Regions from separate parts of the Homo sapiens genome. Here region 2 is linked to region 1. Evidence: promoter capture Hi-C in 16 types of primary human blood cells and fetal thymus (Javierre and others, 2016). All regions are on one chromosome and are shown on one strand. The core of a region is centred on a gene start or on the middle of the fragment in contact, and the rest is flanking DNA. Distances in the headings are between cores, read along the strand shown. Region 1 holds the start of BORCS6 (BLOC-1 related complex subunit 6). Region 2 holds the start of LOC124900396 (small nucleolar RNA SNORA69).

Region 1 (6,250 bases), core at 2,045-4,544:
TTTGAAATAGGGTCTGGCTCTGTTGCCCAGACTGGAGTGCAATAGTCCGATGATAGCTCACTGCAGATTCAACCTTCTGGGTTCAAGCAATCCTCCCGCATCAGCCTCTACAGTAGCTGGGACTCCAGGTGTGCAACACCATGTCTGGCTAATTTTTTTTTTTTTTTTTTTTTTTTTTTTTGAGACGGAGTCTCGCTCTGTTGCCAGGCTGGAGTGCAGTGGCACAATCTCGGCTCACTGCAACCTCCGCCTCCCGGGTTCAAGTGATTCTCCTGCCTCGGCCTCCAGATTAGCTGGGATTACAGGTGCGCGCCACCACACCGGGCTAATGTTTTTGTATTTTTAGTAAAGGCGGGGTTTCCCCATGTTGGCCAGGATGGTCTCGATCTCCTGACCTCGTGATCCGCCCACCTCGGCCTCCCAAAGTGTTGAGATTACAGGCGTGAGCCACCGCGCCCTGCTGATAATTTACATTTTTAAAGGATCATTCTGGTTCTCTATTGAAAATAGACTGTAGAGAGAGGTGAGGGTAGAAGAAGTGAGACCATTCGGGAAGCAACTTCATTTATCCAGGCCAAAAATGATGGTGGTTTGGACCAGGGCAGAAACAATGGTAAGGATGAGAAGTGGTCAGATTCTGGATGTATTTTCGAGCAGAACCAACAAGATTTCCTAAAGGATTGGCCATGGATTATGACAGAAAGAGGAGTCAAGTACAACTCCAGGGTTTTTGGCCTTGGCCACTGGGAAGATGGAGTTGCCACTTACTGAGACAGAAGTCACCGTAGGAAGAAACAAGGTTTTGCGGGGGAGGTGGTGCGATAGGGGTGGGGCAAGGAACCAAATCACAGGAAGGATAAAGGTGGGGCTATCTTCAGGCTGGCACAGGAATTCAAACGCTCTCAGAACTCATGCCTCTTCATCTTTTGTCTCTGGTTCTCTTCCTTATCAGCCTCATTCTTTCCTTCTACAGACAGCGATCTCCTGGACATGAAAGATGGACAAGCTGATACCCAGCTTGAGCTCTCAAGAGAACAGAAAGGCGTCTCACACTCTCCACAAAGCTAGAAACAAACAACACTGTGGAGGATTTTTACTGGTCATACATTGGGTCATGTGCCCTTCCCTGAGCCAATCTGCAGTCAGAAGGATGAAGTACTCTAATTGGCCAGTTTTGGGTCACGTGCCTGTTCCTGGCTGTCATTGCACCAACACATCAGGGAATGGGGAGTTGAGGAGTGAGGAGCTTCCCCTACACAGAGAGACGGTGGGTAGCCCATTTGTCCGCTAAAACCTTCAAGATACATCTAGAATGCATCCATCCACATCGTGCTAGGCTGAGCTACTATCACCTGGTACTTGGAACCGCCTCCTCACTGGTCTACCGTCTCCCTTGCAAACATTTTCTACAACAGCCAGTAATCCCTAAACATGAATCCCATCACATCACTCTCTTCCTGTGCTCAGCTTCCCATTCTCAAGGGAAGTCCTCCCATCTTCTAAAGAATATCTACCTACCCAGCCCAATTATATATGAGCTTTTTAGGTTTTTTTTTTTAGAGCAAAGGAATGACAGGTTTTGTCAAGCTGCAGGTGACTATAAGATACAGACAGCTGACAATTGTGGACTCCTCAGGCGTGGTGAAAGATTGAGCTACTATCATTAGGGTTGGCTGGCTAGGACCCCGGCAGGCACCTGGGGATAGTAGTGCTGGGAAGTTCTGGGGAGTTGCACTTCTGAATGCTGGCATGACACTGCCTCAAGACATCTCTCTATCCAAATGGAAAAAACAACCACATCCTTTGTCAGCTAAGGAGAGTTAGCAAACTGTTTTTATTAAATACTGATGTCTGGCCGGGCACGGTGGCTCACGCCTGTCATGCTAGCACTTTGGGAGGCCGAGGCGGGTGGATCACTTGAGGCCAGTAGTTCAAGACCAGCCTGGCCAACATGGTGAAACCCCATCTCTACTAAAAATACAAAATTAGCCGGGCGTGGTGGCGGGCGCTTGTAATCCCAGCTACCCGGGAGACTGAGTTAGGAGAATCGCGTGAACCCAGGAGGCGGAGGTTGCAGTGAGCCGAGATCGCGCCACTGCACTCCAGCCTGGGTGACGGAGTGGGACTCTGTCTCTAAATACATAAATAAATAAATAAATAAATAAATAAATAAATAAATAAAAATACTGATGTCTCCAAGCTTTGGCTATGTGTTGCAATGTACAACCTTTCCAATGTCGCTGCACCATTGCATTTAGAGGAAATCTCCATTCCCTAACAGGAACTACAAGGCCCCCTGCATGACGTGGCCCCTGCTGCCTGTTCAGCTCCTTGGCTCGAAATCCTTCCCCTTATCTTGCTGATTTTGTTTTAGTCCCAATGTCTCCTGCCCCCTCACCTCAGTTTCTTGAATACGTCAAGACTTCTTTGTCTCTGAGAGGTAGCTCAAGTTTTCTTCTCTCTGCCTGGGGGGTGGCTGCGTCTTTTTGGTTCTTTTTAGTTAAAAGTCTCACCAAAGAGGTATTTTCCTGACCCCTTACCTAAACTAGTGCCTGCTCAGTTATATTCTCAATCATAACACTTTATTTCCTGTATAGCACATATCAAAATTTGTGATCATTTCATTTGTTGAATATTTTACCTCGTGGCAAAATCACACGCCATCCTCCAAGGGGCGAGACCCCTCAGTGTGAAAGGGGCAAGAGACACAGAACAAGAGTGACAAACGCATAGGAAAGCCCAGAGGCCGCTGCCTTGACCACAGTGGGTCGCTCTGAGCAGTTCAGTGGTTAGGTCTCTTAACCAAGAAAGATAGAGCAAACCATTCATGCTCATGCTGGACTTCTGGTTTCCTTCTTTTTAGTCAACTAGGTTCAACCCTGATGGTCCAAGAAGGATATGCCATTTTCATCCTAAGAACCTCTCTAGGAACCCCAAGTGGGCTCCCCACTTGGTATTTTTGCTAAGCAATCACTGTTGGGGGGGGTACAATTACAGGCAGAAAGGATCTGAGCCCCACCCCTCGGGACTCAGGAATTTGAGGACCTTGGTCTTTAAGATCTGCCCCATCAGCTTTCAGAAAGGGCGGGGCGACGGGAGCAGCTGTCACCTCCTTCTCTCCACCCTGCCGGCGTTCACGTGTGTTCCGCTGTGCAGTAACAGCTCTTCTTCCGGGACTTCCTGGTCGCCGCGACCAATCAAAATGCTTTTCCTGTCCTTACCATTGTCAGCCGCTGCCAATCGGCTCGCCTCTACCAACGCCCCTTAAAGGCGCAGCCACTGCCTCCGGAGCCGGGGCGAACCAATTCCTCCGTTGCGGCCCCCACCTGCAGTATGGAGTCGTCTCGGGGGCGGCCCGGGCCCGAGACGGACCTTCTGGCTGTAGCGGAACATCAGGCCCTAGTCTTTGGCGGCGGGCCGGGCCGAACGTCCTCTGAGCCGCCCGCAGGCCTCCGGGTGTCCGGGGAGGAAGAGACCGAGAACGTTGGGGGCGCGAACCGCCACCCCAGGACGTCCCCGAAGACGTCAAGCTGCGGCGTCGTCCACCGGCCGGAACGGGAGGCTCTGGAGAACGAGCCCGGCCCTCAAGGGACGCTGTCTGGGGCCGGGAGCCGCAGGGGGGCGCCGGGTGCAGAGCACGAACCTTCCCTGTCCTCCCGGCACAAGAACCCGGCGCCGCCCGAGGGCAAGCCCTCCTCCGGGAGGGACTGCCGTCGAGGGGGACCAGGCGGCGGGATGGATGTTGAGCAGCAGGAGGAGGAAGACAACGACGAGGAGGCGGCCGCGGGCAGCAGAGCCGGCCGCTCGTTCTCCAGCCGTCTTCAGGACAGCCGCAGCCTGGACGGGCTGAGCGAGGCGTGCGGTGGCGCCGGGTCCTCAGGGAGTGCCGAGTCCGGCGCGGGCGGCGGACGCCGCGCCACCATCTCCAGTCCCCTGGAGCTCGAAGGCACAGTGAGCCGCCACGGCGACCTTACCCACTTTGTCGCCAACAACCTGCAACTCAAGATCCGTCTGAGCGGCGCGCCTCCACCCCCGCCTTCTGCCCCTGCGCGGCCCTGCCCAGCGCCTGCACCCACACCCACACCGGCCATTCCCCCAATCGACCCCGAGGTGCTGCGGGATCTGGAGCGGTTGAGTCGGGAGCTGGGAGGCCGGGTGGACCGTCTGCTTCGCGGTCTGGGTGGCGCGGTGCAGGAGCTGACGGCGCTGAGCGTGGGTTGCATCCAGACCTACCGCGATGCTGTGGACTCCTTAGGTGAAGCCGTGGACATGAGCATCAAGGGCATGTACACCCTGCTGGCGCGCTGCGAGGAGCTGGAGCGGGCTCTGCAGCCGGTTCAGGGGCTGGCGCGCCAAGTCCGGGATATCCGACGTACTCTGGAGGTGTTGGAGGCCCTGTGCAAGTGACCAGGAGGACAGGAGAGGCCGGTCCTGGCCAGGGCAGGGCCCAGCAGGACCCTAAGGACTCTTCAGGGAGTCCTGGTGGGAAGTGCCCACTGAGGGGAGGCCTGTGTGTTGGAGGCTCTTCCAGATGCGTTCAGCTGGCCCGTGCCCACTCGCTGGGCCTTAGGCTGGTGTATGTGGGGAAGTTCTAACGGCTCTCCTGGTGGGAAGGGATGTTGCTCTGCTTGTATTCAGTTGGCCATCTGTAGCTACCCTGTTCTTCCCAACTCTCCTCCCTAGCTAGAGCACCAGCCCTGGGAACACGGGGCTTTAGGTCTGCTTGAAGGTGAGGACGTGACTCCCACATGTAATCAGGAGAAAGGGACAGAGGAAGCCCCAGCCCCCACTGTGGCTATCCTGACTCCAGTGGCCACATCTCAGGTGCCAGGGGCTGTGGGAGCTTGTGCCGTCCTTGGCCAAACACCCCGCAGGCAAAGATGCACCCCTGCTGATGGAGAGCCTTCTGCTTCTGCCCTCTGGCCCTCTACCATACCACTTCCCCAGCCAGAACCGGCGTGCAGCTAGGAGGAATGGGTTGCACGGCGGAGGGGGTGAGGTGGGAGGCGTCTCACTGCTCTCAGGGTTCAGGTAGAATGTTGCTGGTTTTGAAGCTCACCTGTTGTGGAGTGTTCTAATCAGTTTTGGCTTTCTGAGTTTTTGTGGAATTAAAGTGCTGCTGCTGCGAAGGCTGAGGCTGAGTCTGTGTGGGGTTGCAGTGATTAATAAGCCAAAGGAATGGGAATGAGGGTCGGTGTTGTTCACGCAGCTCCCTTGGGGCTGGTGCTGGGAGTGGGGTGGGGGTGGAGATGTCTCAGGCTCCGTGGGGAAAGATATGGTTCTTGCTCTTAAGCATCTGGTCTGAGGGGAAATGTGAGGACACAGATAATCACTCACAGGGGCCCAGAGATCCGGTAACCACAGAAACGTAAAAAAGATGCTCTAGAAGAGAAGGGGAAGAAATTGTCTTCTCAGGTCCTCATGAATAGGCAGGGGCTGGGTGGATTGGACGGACATCTTACCTCTGGGGGAAGACTGGGAACACTTGTCAGCTCTATTCCTGACCATTTCCCACACTCTGCAGATCAGTGCCACGTGGTTTGAGACAAATTTGTCCCAAAGCCTTTTGTTTACAGTTCACACAGTAAGTTCAGGAGCCATATATTGTGGCCATAAGATGTAGAAGCAAAGATCACGAAACAACCCCGGTTTCTCTCAATCCCTTCCTCTCAAGACACGCCCACTTTAGAATGCGCTCCAATACGCTCCCTGTTCTGGGATTGGAAATGTGGCGCTGTTTTTCCCCAGAGACGTTACTTGGCTCTAAAACGGAGTGCAGTAATCGTACTTTCGAAAAGTTTCAATCCTGGCCCGTACGGGGATCGAACCCGCGACCTTGGCGTTATTAGCACCACGCTCTAACCAACTGAGCTAACCGGCCAGTTGCTACGAAAAGCTTGAAATAAATCTATTTAGTTACAATACTGTTCAGTTCTCTCGGGAAAAACCTTCAGTTGTGGGACTGCTTTATGAGAAATGAAAACAGAACACAAACACTGACTAACTGAGCACCTAGACGAGTAACAGACAGTACTGGCAAGTACAGATGATGCGACTGGTGTAACTGCAGGTCGAGGCGCAAGTACCATGTGCACGAAGAGCAAAAACCCAACAGCGTGTGGCAGATGCACCGGGAGAGGATAGATGGGTACGTGAGTAAACCATGTAGGATGGAAGTTATGAGTTTCTGCAACTGTCCTCACAATGTTTAATGTTGGCAAAAGCGTGGGGGAAACACGGAGGCACCGCT
Region 2 (6,250 bases), core at 2,021-4,520, 140 kb before region 1:
CTCCCAGCTACTTGGGAGGATGAGGCAGGAGAATCACTTGAACCCAAGAGGCAGAGGTTGCAGTGAGCTGAGATTTCACCACTGCACTCCAGCCTGGGCAACAGAATGAGATCCATCTCAAAAAAAAAAAAAAAATGGTTGACCCAAGCTAGATCCTTCCAGAGTTCTGCCCTGGGACTTTGTAATTGAAGTCAAGTGCAAAGTCGGTGGTGAAACTATGAGGCTGAACTATGAGTCTATGAGAAATTCCTTTCATTCTGGGGGAATCCCACTCCTCTGCCCACTGACCCCCGCCCCTACCCTGCTGATTCTCAAAGTATTATTTCAGAATCTACATGCAAATAATACTTTGAATATTACATTCAAAGTATTAGAGTCACTTAACTAATACTTTGTGATACCCACATATATGTATGTGTGAATGTATCTGTGTGTATGTGTACGTACATATATAATGATATGTAGATGCGTATATATACACACATATAAATGTTATCCATGAATCATATATAAGTACTACTACACTAACAGCTTTAAACATCTACAATAATATATTTTATAAAGGGCATAATGAGTAGAAATATGGTACCGGGCGTGGTGACTAATGCCTGTAATCCCAGCACTTTGGGAGGCTGAGGTGAGCAGATCACTTGAGGTCAGGAGTTTAAGACCAACCCAAACAATATGGTGAAACCCCGTCTCTTCTAAAAATACAAAAATTAGCCAGGAGTGATGGCACACACCTATAATCCCAGCTACTCAGGAGGCTGAGGCAGGAGAATCACTTGAACCCAGGAGGTGAAGGTTGCAGTGAGCTGAGATCGTGCCACTGCACGCCAGCCTGGGCAACAGAGCAAGACGCCGTCTCAAAATAAAAAGATTAAAAATATGAAATCTTTTTAAATATTTATTTATCGTCCCCATGGATCATCATATATATGCTGCTTCCAGAACACTTTGAATATATCCAGAACTCTCGAGTGAGACTGTCAGATGCAAATGCTGTCTCTGCCAATTGCTAGCTCTGTGAACCTGAAATACTTGACCTCTTTGTGCCTCAGTTTCTTCTGAGAGAATGAAACCAACATGCAACGTTCTGTATTTTCATTCTGGTATTCTTTTATTTATTTTTTCCTTAGAATTGTCCATGTCAATCTGTCGTGATTTTACTCTCACAAAGACAAATCAAAAATCATTAAAACAGCTTTTCTTTCAGCAGCATAATGATGGTATTTAGTATTTCACAAAATGAAGCACTGTAATTCCAGCTTGCTTTTCACTCTGACATTCTAAATGCCCAATCTAGTCTTTTTTTTTTTTTTTTTTTTTTTTGAGACAGCGTTTCACTCTTGTTGCCCAGGCTGGAGTGCAGTGGTGCCATGTTGCCTCACTGCAAACTCCGCCTCCCGGGTTCAAGCGATTCTCCTGCCTCAGCCTCCCAAGGAGCTGGGATTGCAGGCATGTGCCACCACACCAAACTAATTTTTGTATTTTTAGTAGAGACGGGATTTCACCATACTGGTCAGGCTGGTCTCGAACTCCTGACCTCAAGTGATCCACCCGCCTCGGCCTCCCAAAGTGCTGGGATTACAGGCGTGAGCCACCGCGCCCGGCCTGGTCTCGTCTTAAATAAAATGGCAAGCCATGATGAGGACCAAATTGAAGCAACTTTGGCGAAGTTACCTATTGTAACAAGCAGGCCGACTTGAGGTGGACCTGCCCACCTCAGATTTGCATCCTACCATTTGGGAATTCATTGCGTGATCCACAGAGTCTGAACAGGAAGGCACACAGGAGAGGAAGAGCTGCCAGTGAGATAAATGGCCTCTCTGGAATAGCTAAGAGTACAATTGTATTGTGGATTATCTGAATCAGTTAGGACTCTGTAGCTAATAAAAGAAAGGAGATTCAAACTGGTTTAAGGGATAAAGGGAATTTAATGACCTATAGAACTGAAAAATCCAGGCTGGTCTCAGTGGCTCGTGCCTGTAATCCCAGCACTTTGTAAGGCCCAGGCGGGCAGATCGCCTGAGGTCAGGAGTTTGAGACCAGCCTGGCCAACATGGTGAAACTTCATTTCTACTAAAAATACAAAAATTAGTGGGGCATGATCGCAGGCGCCTGCAATCCCAGCTACTCAGGAGGCTGAGACAACAGAATCACTTGAACCCAGGAGGCAGAGGTTGCAGTGAGCCAAGATCATGCCATTGCACTCCAGCCTGGGTGACAGAGTGTGACTCCATCTAAAAAAAAAAAAAAAAAAAAAAAATTAGCTGGGCATGGTGGCGCATGCCTGTAGTCCCAGCTACTAGAGAGGCTGAAGTATGAGAATAGCTTGAACCTAGGAGGCAGAGGGTTGCAGTGGGCCGAGATCGTGCCACTTCCTTCCAGCCTGGGCAACAGTGCGAGATCCTGCCTCAAACAAACAAACAAACAAAAATAACTGAAAAATCAAGATAAAAGCTTCAGATGAGACTTGATCCTGGAACTCAAGTGATGATAACAAGGACCTGGCTTTCCCCTTGTCTCTCCATTTCCAGTTTTGTGGTGTTGGCTCCTTCATCAGGCTGTATCCAGTGGCCTCCCCAGCAACTCCAAGCTGCCTCTCACTGCACTAAAATGGCAGCCACTGATCCAAACCTTATATCCTCACACTGCAATGTCCAGGGGAAGAGAGAATGGCTCATTCAAGTGGCTCTTGGGTGGGTCTCGAATTAACTGTCTCTGAACTCATTGATCCAAATTGGGACACATACCCATCTCGACCCAATCACAATAACCAAGGGTTGTCGTAAATCAAGGAAGAGTAGCTGGGCGCAGTGCCTCCCCTGTAATCCCAGCACTTTGGGAGGTCGATGGGGGTAGATCATGAGGTCAAGGGTTCAAAACCAGCCTGGCCATATGGTGAAGCCCCGTCTCTACTAAAAATATAAAAAATTAGCCGAGTGTGGTGGCGCACGCCTGTAGTCCCAGCTACTCGGGAGGCTGAGGCAGGAGAATCGCTTGAACCCAGGAGGCGAAGGTTGCGGTGAGCCGAGGTCACGCCACTGCACTCTAGACTGGGTGACAGTGTGAGACTCCGTCTAAAACAAAAACAACAACAACAACTCAGGGTCACTTTCAAATCCAATTTTTAGTCAATATTTTGTATTCTTTATTGTTAAGGTTCCCCAAAAGTCTGGATTCAATCCCAACGCTTTCTCACAGAGGGCAGCTTCAGGTTTCTAACAGTGGACGGAGTGAGAGAGGCTTCGGGTCAGCGGTGGTTGTGAGGCAGTTTGGGCGCAGCCCACGGCTTCATGCCCCGCGGCGGGGGCACGTGCAGGCACCAGCTTGAAAAACTCCATCGGGCGTGGAGCTGACCCATTCGGGTCCGAAGCCAAACCTAGTCGGATCAAGCAGCTGAACGCAGGCCCCGGGACCTGGTGACTGCCGTTGCGACCTCGAGAGTGCTGCGGGTGGGTGGGAAGGAGGAGTGGCTAGCTCTGGGGACGTCGGGCAGTGTTCTGAACAGCGGGAGCCAGTGCCTCAACTTCCCCAGGATTCTTCCGCGGGAGCAGCCCACTCCCATACTCCGCCCCGCGTGGGAGGCGAGCGCTGAGAACCAGGAGACACAGCCAGGCCAGGAGACCCCAGAGTCCAGCCAGAAGACGTGCTGAGACCCCGCTGCAGGAAGCCCTATGGCCGCGCTGCGCTCACTCACTGAGTCCGGGTCTCCGGCAGAGAGACAGGGGCAGCCCCGCGGGAGGGGCGGGCGCGGGGCCAGAGCGGGGCCTGGCCACGTCCGGGAGGATGAACGGAGCCCCGCTAAGGTCGGGAGGACTTCGAGGAGCTCCAGCGCTCTGTTCCCCTTGGTGTCGCCCGAGGCTGATGGAGGGTGGTGAGACCGTGGCTTGGAGACGACGTGCTGGGGAGCAAGGTCGGGAGCCCGCCAGGCTCGCGGTGGAGCTGTCGCTGGAGAGGCACTGCTGCACCGGGACGGTGGGCTGGTGGGCTGGCCACCCTGGAGAACCTGAGCCTGCAGTTACCTCTGTAGCTGAACCTGCGAGTATGGAGGGTTTAGGAAAGAGAAGCTTTCCGAGATGGCTGGAGAGCCAGCCAGGCTGAAGGGCTCCGGAAAGGATCACAGGAAGTGGGCTGGAGGGTTCCTTGCGGGTGGAAGGAGGAGGAGAGAGCTAGTGAGCAGGCTTGGGGGCCGGGGCGTGGGGGGAAGAGGGCGAGGCTCCTCTCTTTCCTCTGTTGCTTGTGGGCATGATTGCAACCCCCACCCCCGTTTATCTGCGATGTTGGCCACTAAGATCTTGACCCGGAGCCCACAGAAGGCCAGCTCAAAGAGAGGCCCGTGCCCTTTACTATCTGCCTTATCTTGTAGGAAAAGAAAAACTTTTTATCTGAGGGGGGCAAGGCTTTTAAAATTATCAGGCCCATAGAGAGGATCGCTTGAGCCCAGGAGTTCCAGACCAGCCTGGGCAACATGGCAAAACGCCGTCTCTACAAAAAATACAGAAATTAGTCGGGTGTGTTGGCTCCTGCCTGTGGTCCCAGCTACTCAGGAAGCTGAGGCAGGAGGATCGCTTGAGCCCAGGAGCTCGAGGCTGCAGTGAGCCAAGATCGTGCCACTGCACTCCCGCCTGGGTGACAAAGCCAAATCTTGTGACAAAAAAAAAAAAAAAAATCAGGGCCAGAGAGGAATTAAAATGAGACAACAGTGACATCCCATTACCCCCTTTGAGCTAGGTATTCACCTCTTTAACTGCTTGCATTGGCTTGCTCTTGCCATAAGTAGCTATGAATTAACCTGGTAATGCCACACTGGACACTATAACCCACCCCCTATAGCTTAACAGTATATAGCCAATCACTAATCAAAGAGCTTCCTTTAAACCAATGAGAATTCCTAACAACTTTGTATCAGCCCACAGCCCACTCCCTGTCCCCCTTTTTTGCCTTTGAAAACCTGCTTGTAACAAAGCCCTAATGGAGCTCATATCCAAGGTTACTTGGGTCTGAGTCTTCCTGGCAGCCGTCCTCCCTTTGTCTTTCGTTTGTTTTTTGTTTTTTGAGACAGAGTCTCGCTCTTGTCACCCAGGCTGGAGTGCAATCACGCGATCTTGGCTCACTGCAACCACTGTCTCCTGGGTTCAAAGGATCCTCCTGCCTCAGCCTCCCGAGTGGCTGGGATTACAGGCGGGCACCACGACACCCGGCTAATTTTTTGTATTTTTAGTGGAGACGGGGTTTCACCATGTTGGCCAAGCTGGTCTCAAAGTCATGACCTCAGGTGATCCACCTGCCTCGACCTCCCAAAGTGTTGGGATTACAGGCGTGAGCCACCATGCCCGGCCCCCTTGGGCTCAAGTAAACTCTTTCAACCATATTTTGTGCCTCAGCCTCTTCCTTTTAGGTTGACAATTGACTCCCAGAATATGGAGGCTTCAGCTATGAGGAGCAGGGCCACGGGTGAAGAGTGTCCACACTGACTCAGAGAAAGGTCCCCAACTGGGGCCAGCTTTCCCACCCTGTCGCCTCAGGCATCTCCCCCCGGGGACGCCTGCACCTTTCCTGAGCCTGTGGAAATGTTGGTTTCTTCCACCTCCCCAGCATGATAGACTGTGAGGGAATAAGGTGATAGTGGCTCTAGGACTCCCCAGCTGACTCAGTGAACCTCTCTGTACTACCCCCACCAGCATGCCTGGAACGCAGACAGGGCACCGCTGAGAGGTTTCTCCCATGGGCCCTCCTACGCCACCTATGAGGAAGTTGCAGGAGGCAACCCAGAGGGGCAGGAAGAACACAGAAGGGAGGGGACACTGGACACCCATAGCAGAGATGCCTGAGGGAGAGGGAGGGAGACAATTTGGAATGAGCTGAGTTACCTCCTGCCACCTGTCCTGCAACACCCCCCATCAGCCTCCCTCTTCTGTCCTCTTTACCCCATCCCCATTCCCATCTTCTGTCTATCCACGCTCTCCTTGCTGTAGTCCTCATTCCCCCACATCCGTTCCTTTCCCATATAGCTGTGTTTCATGCCCTTCGGCCCCCTTAGACAGGCCAGCAGAATGCAGACCCCTCCAGGACAAACACACTCAGGTCACCCCAAAATGGAAAGCAGGCTCTGAGATAACAGAATCCAACCCCCAAAAGTCAGGAAACATGGCAGTCCCCTCCCTTCCTGTCTTCTCAGTCTCTTTTGGAACATATGGTTGTATTTTATACACCTTTATGTCCCAAAATAACCCTTACCTGGTCG

Evidence for each region. The method cuts DNA at HindIII sites, captures the fragments that hold promoters and counts their contacts. A CHiCAGO score of 5 or more calls a contact.
Region 2: a contact is called between a fragment that was not itself captured here and the fragment with the promoter of BORCS6 in region 1, in 1 of 17 cell types (megakaryocytes). The highest score is 6.5, in megakaryocytes.

Annotation. Positions count from the first base shown.
Region 1 is chr17:8,187,224-8,193,473 of GRCh38, reverse strand. BORCS6 (BLOC-1 related complex subunit 6) reads left to right here and starts at 3,294. Exons shown (of 1, transcript NM_017622.3): 1 at 3,294-5,129. The coding sequence starts at 3,334. The coding sequence ends at 4,407. LOC124903913 (a long non-coding RNA gene) reads left to right here. Exons shown (of 2, transcript XR_007065604.1): 2 at 974-2,199. It overlaps TRT-AGT1-1 (tRNA-Thr (anticodon AGT) 1-1), which reads right to left; the gene lies at 6,241-6,250. It overlaps TRI-AAT5-5 (tRNA-Ile (anticodon AAT) 5-5), which reads right to left and starts at 5,881; the gene lies at 5,808-5,881. RefSeq lists enhancers at 918-1,017, 2,835-3,480, 3,223-3,502, 3,481-4,127, 5,266-5,315 and silencers at 3,613-3,662, 3,863-3,922, 3,993-4,042, 6,176-6,250. The HindIII fragment of the contact is 3,696 bases long and covers 2,203-5,898 here.
Region 2 is chr17:8,324,609-8,330,858 of GRCh38, reverse strand. It overlaps LOC124900396 (small nucleolar RNA SNORA69), which reads right to left and starts at 1,276; the gene lies at 1,140-1,276. The HindIII fragment of the contact is 1,610 bases long and covers 2,466-4,075 here.